Regions from separate parts of the Homo sapiens genome. Here region 2 is linked to region 1. Evidence: promoter capture Hi-C in 16 types of primary human blood cells and fetal thymus (Javierre and others, 2016). All regions are on one chromosome and are shown on one strand. The core of a region is centred on a gene start or on the middle of the fragment in contact, and the rest is flanking DNA. Distances in the headings are between cores, read along the strand shown.

The links. Contacts are between HindIII fragments. The CHiCAGO score rates a contact against its expected background, and 5 or more counts as called.
Region 2: a contact is called between a fragment that was not itself captured here and the fragment with the promoter of CPN1 in region 1, in 1 of 17 cell types (neutrophils). The highest score is 6.1, in neutrophils.

The regions. Positions count from the first base shown.
Region 1 is chr10:100,080,358-100,083,601 of GRCh38, forward strand. CPN1 (carboxypeptidase N subunit 1) reads right to left here and starts at 1,512. Exons shown (of 9, transcript NM_001308.3): 1 at 1,046-1,512. The coding sequence starts at 1,268. The HindIII fragment of the contact is 7,883 bases long and covers 1-3,244 here.
Region 2 is chr10:99,811,359-99,814,252 of GRCh38, forward strand. It overlaps ABCC2 (ATP binding cassette subfamily C member 2), which reads left to right. Exons shown (of 32, transcript NM_000392.5): 15 at 178-244; 16 at 1,660-1,786. Among named protein-coding and RNA genes, the nearest start is that of ABCC2, 30 kb to the left of the region's middle. The HindIII fragment of the contact is 6,218 bases long and covers 1-2,894 here.

The DNA.
Region 1 (3,244 bases), core at 262-2,761:
TGGATGCTATCCATAACAGATTGTGAAATGAGAAGGGCAGTTATAATACAATTTCATTTTTATAGAAACAATTACATGTGTTTGAGTCAGGGTTTAAATATGCATAGAAAAAAGTCTGGAAGGATATACATCAATACATTAACAGTGGTGGGATTTGGGGTGAGTTTTATTATTTTTTTTCCTTATCTAATCTCTAAATTTTAATCCAAACATGGATTGCTTTTACAGTAGAAACAAACTAAAAAAAGGAATCCAGGCTAAGTGCGGTGGCTCACGCCTGTAATCCCAACACTGGGAGGCCAAGGTGGGTGGATCGCCTGAGCCCAGGAGTTTGAGATTAGCCTGGTTAACATGATGAAACCCTGTCTCTACTAAAAATACAAAAATTAGCCGGGCGTATTGGTGCATGCCTGTGGTCCCAGCTACCTAGGAGGCTGAGGGGAAAGGATCACCTGAGCCCAGGAGGTGGAGGCTGCAGTGAGCTGAGATCATGCCACTGCATTCCAGCCTGGGCAACAGAGCCAGACCCCGTCTCAAAAAAATAAAAAATAAAAAAGAATCCAGTAAATAAAACTGACACCCAAGTCCCCAAACTCTCTCTGGAATACCACACTGTCACTCCCCGAAGAGATTCCCCTATACCCTTCTAAGTTTCCTGGCAGAACTAGAAGGGCTCATTGTTTTTGCCTATGTCTCCTGAGCCATTGGGTGGGGAAAGACAGAACAATAGTAAGGGGAAAAGAAAGGAAATGGGGGAAATGAAGGGATATGGGACATGAGCAGGGAAGAAGACTCATCTTTTACCATTAAAGTTTTGAGCAAACAGAACCCAAAAAGGAGGAAAGATCTGAAGGCTGAAGGAGGGTTATAGCTCCCCAGAGGCAGTGGCAGTTTGAGGGCTAAGAGGGAAATAGCACAGGCTGAGAAAGAGATAATACCTTGTAGGCGGAGGCGTCCACGGACCACCCCAGAAACCACTCCAATTACTGGATTTGCAAGGGAAAGGCCCTGCCCCACACACCCTCAAGAGCTGTTCAGAACTTACAGGGCTCGTGGATTCCAGGGTGGTCGCTGAACTCCAGCACGTAGAGGTGTCTCCCCTCCACGCTGCGCCCAATGCTGTAGACCCGCGTGATGCCGGGGCATTCGTTTTGCACCTTGTACAGCGTCCGCACAAGATCATCATAGCGGTGGTGGCGAAAGGTCACCGGGGCAACCAACTTGAAGAGAAGGAGGAGGTGGAGGAAGACTGAGAGCAGGTCTGACATCTTGCTGGGCTTTTTCAAAGAGAGCCACTGAAACGCGCCCCACCTCCTTAAACAACCTAGCCTCTTCACCCGCCAAAATCCAAGGTCCACCTAGCTTCCCGCTTGTAAACACCAGTCCAAATTGGAAGACGTTCCCAGCTGTCCGTCCAAGGCTGGAAATTCTTTATGTCGTTCTGGAATAGCCACTCATCTCTCCTCCCTCACTCCCTTTCTTTCTCTAATCCAGGAAAGCCTTTTGAAAGGTTTTTTGCACTTCCCCAGATGGGTAGTTTCACTGATTCTGGTTTACTGGTTAACTGGACTGTAAACAGGCTTCAATAAATAGCTGCTTATAACCCTTTGATTCCTGGAGAATTTTTTAAAACTTGGCCTGTGCCTGTTCCTTTTATTACAACTTTCAAAAAGAGTTCTCTGTCCCTTTTGATCCATCCCACGTACTGCTGCCTGCCTATCTTTCTGAAGCATGGCTGTATTTTGTCCTTTTTTTCCTCAAAAATCTTTCAACAGATGCCATTAAGAAAAGGAAAAGATTAGCCTCGGACTGGGAGAAAACAATTGTAAATCATGTATCCGATAATACCCCCATAATACGTAAAGAATCCTTACAATACAATAAGAAAACAAACAACCCAATTAAAACATGGGCAAAACATTTGACCAAAATAGATATACAAATGGCTAATAAGCACATTTAAAGATGTTCAGTGTCATTAGTCATTAAGGAAATACAAATTAAAACCACATGAGATCCAGTCATGGTGGCTCATGCCTATAATCTCAGCACTTTGGGAGGCCAAATTGGGAGGATCACTTGAGCCCAGGAGTTTGAGATCAGCCTGGGCAACATAGCAAGACCCCACCTCTACAAATATTTTTAAAATTAGCTGGGTGTGATGGCATGCCTGTAGTTCCAGCTACTAGGGAGGCTGAGGCAGAGAATCACTTGAACCTGGGTGGTGGGGCCTGAAGTGAGCCATGATCATGCCACTACACTCCAGCCTGGGCAACAGAGTGAGACCTCATCTCAAAAAACAAACAAACAAAAATCACACATGAAATATACTTTACCTCCACTAGAATGGCTACAATAAAAAAGACAGACAATAACAAATGTTGGTGAGAATAGGGAGAAACTGGAACCCTCATAAATAGTGCAGCCAGACCAGGTGCAGTGGCTCATGCCTGTAGCCCAGGACTTTGAGAGGCCGAGGCAGGTGGATCACGAGGTCAAGAGATCGAGATCATCCTGGCAAACATGGCAAAACCCCCTCTCTACTAAAAATACAAAAATTAGCTGGGCATGGTGGCACACGCCTGTAGTCCCAGCTACTCAGGAGTCTGAGGCAGGAGAATTGCTTGAACCTGAGAGGAGGAGGTTGCAGTGAGCTGAGATCACGCCACTGCACTCCAGCTTGGTGACAGAGCGAGACTCCATCTCAAAAAAAATAAAAAATAAAGATAAACAAATAAATAGTACAGCCAGTTTGGAAAACAGTTTAGCAGTTTCTTACAAGGTTAAATATATACTTACTATATAATACAACAGTTTCACTCCTAGGTACCTATGCAAGAGAAATGAAAACACACATCCACACAAAAACTTGTACATAAATGTCCATAGCAGTATTGTTCACAAGAGACAAAAAGTGGAAACAACCCAAATGTCCATTAACCACTGAGCGGATAAACAAAATATGGCATATCCATACAATGAAATAGTATTTGACAATAAAAAGGAGTGGAGTGCTAATATATTGTACAATGTGAATGAATCTTACACATGCCTGGTAAAAGAAGCCAGACCCAAAACACCACAAGTGGACACAAAATTTCTTTTTAGAGTGATAGAAATGTTCTAAAATTAGATTGTGGTGATGGTGATGTCTATACAACTCGATAAATATACTAAAATTCATTGAATTGCATACTTAAAACAGATGAATTCTATGATATGCAAATTGTATCTCAATAAAGCT
Region 2 (2,894 bases), core at 178-2,677, 270 kb before region 1:
CCACTTCTGGTCTCATGGTCTCATTCTAGGAGATTTCATTCACCTCCTGTTAGCGTAGGAGCCAGCACTTAGCAGAAACAATCCTAGGAGCTGATGGAGAAAGCGGAGAGAGACACGTGAGGGCAGACAGTCACGTGGGGACCTACATTGGACTAAAAGAGGGCTTTTTCTCAACAGACAAAGCCATGCAGTTTTCTGAGGCCTCCTTTACCTGGGAACATGATTCGGAAGCCACAGTCCGAGAGTGAGTTGCCTTCTTTCCATCCTAATGTTCTTTAGCATTCTCACTGCCTGGCCTATTCTCAGAAAATTCCATGTAATAGAATGCATGGGGAAATGAGCTATGTGCATGTCTTCGGTTAGATACTAGTGCAGGATAAACCCCTGGAGAGATGAGCTGAAAGCAAAGGTTCTCAGCCCCTTCCCCTGATAACTGCATTTGCCATGCTGCTTTCCTACTATGGGGCCATGAATATCCAGCTGTGATCCCATGAAGACATTTGTGTGTGCAGATTGTGGATGGAGGTAGTGCAGCGTTGGCAGGTGGCCGGCGTCTCTGGGTATGGTAGAAGACAAACCCAAGAACCTGAATTCAGTATAAGTTCATTCATTCAAGAATAGCAATCAGGAACATTGGAATCTGGCTTCTCAGTGTGTATCTTCTGCACATAGTGTGTCTCTTAAGCACCATGTGTAATAGCACACCCAATTCATCCACTGAGCACAGCACACAGAGTACACCAGGAGGCTGAATAGGCCATATCTTTGTTTCTTCACAACTGAGCACATCTTACTGTCTCCTTACTATACTCCTGACTTCCCACTCCTCTATCTTGTTCCTACAGCCTTTAACATGGACTCCAGAGCTAGCCCCAGGATGAGTTGGGGCAGGAGCACATGCTCTGAACCTTCCTAACCCAGCAGTTTCCCTTTCCAGAGAGGAAACTGGGCAGGGCTTCCACTTCACTGTTATAGGTCTGGAAGAAATTCACCTCAATGCGCAGATTCAGAAAGACTGTGAACAAGTTCCTAATGTTCCTAATGTTCTAGAAACTCAAATAACAGGGCTGGCACACACAGTTTCCGGGAACCTATCCCATTGTGGGCCCCTACTCAGCCAGATACAGTCAAATATTTAGGAGAAGGGCCAGGGAATCTACTTTCAGCAAATGTTCCAGGTGACACATTTAGTACCTAATTTGGGAAATGTTAATCTAGTCCAATCCCATTAGTAAGAAAGGAGGGGTCCTTAGTCCAAAGGAAGTGACCTTCCAAGATAACATAGACCAGCAGTGTCAGGGTTGGGACTTGAACCAAGCCAGGTCTCCAGGCCCCCACTAGGGTCTTGTTCAATGGGTAACCATGTTAGTTCTAGGAGAATTTTATCATTGGAAATGCACATTTGTCACAAACAGCTTATAGATGAGTTGGATAAATTAGGGCTCATTAGGGCTCATTCTCTAGCCTTTTAGAGCTAAGAAAAGAAAAAGAAAAAGTATTAAAGAAGCACTTTGGGGTCTTGTATATCCAAGGCAAATTTTCCAATCTTGAGGGGAAATCTCCTGATACCAGACTTCATGGAGACTCAGAGAAGTGACTTGAACTACTCTTCAATACCCAACCCCTGCTATCTCCTTCAAAGACATTCCTGTCTTTCAGTGTGAACCTGGACATTATGGCAGGCCAACTTGTGGCTGTGATAGGCCCTGTCGGCTCTGGGAAATCCTCCTTGATATCAGCCATGCTGGGAGAAATGGAAAATGTCCACGGGCACATCACCATCAAGGTGAGAGGGAATGCCAATGCAAAAGCCTCTGACTCCCGAATGTCAGCAGCTTCGTGCTTTTGCCTCACTGGGGAGAAGGCACTGAGGGCTAGTAGGTGAGGTCTTGGAGACATCCGATAGATTTGTGGACTGTGATTCTCCTTCCCATTTCAGCTTTATATAATCAGTTGCTGGGGGTAAGATTTGGGAATCTGCATTTTTAATGAGCTCTAAAGGTGATTCTCATACGCATACTACAGTGTGAAAACTGCTGATTAGAGAGGTCTTCCTTCAAAATATAGGCATTTCTGGCCAGGCACGGTGGCTCACGCCTATAATCCCAGCACTTTGAGAGGCCGAGGCAGGCAGATCACCTGAGGTCAGGAGTTCGAGACCAGCCTGGTCAACATGGTGAAACTCTGTCTCTACTAAAAATACAAAATTAGCCGGGTGTGGTGGCATGTGCCTGTTATCCCAGCTACTTGGGAGGCTGAGGCATGAGAATCACTTGGGCCCAGGAGGGCTGCAGTGAGCCAAGATCATGCCACTGCACTCCAGCCTGAGTGACAGAGAGAGACTCTGTCTCAAAAAAAAAAAAGTATAGGCATTTCTGCTTTATCTATGTATTTGTTTCTGAAAAATCATGCATCCTGCAAAACTGTACAATAAAAATAACAGGACCTAGGGGAAAAGAATTGTAATAGATCACTAAAAACTTATATAACTTTGTAACCAAACTACCAACAGAAACAATACCAACCATAACAGTAATATCAAGAGCAATAAAAACAGTAGATTGTACAATCATCACTGGCATTTGCACCCAACATTGCAATTACTCTTGGGCCTTTCTCTTCCTCCTTTGAGAGCTAAATCTTTGATGGCATTTGCTTCCAAAATAAAAATCTGGTGTAGGGTGTTGTCTTCTTCATCAATTTTGTATATATATATGTGTATGTGTATATACACATATATATACACACATATGTGTATATACACACATATGTGTGTATATATACACACATGTATGTATACACACGTATATATACACACATGTATGTATACACACATGTGTATATATACACACATGTGTATATATACACACATGTGTATATATGCACACACGTAT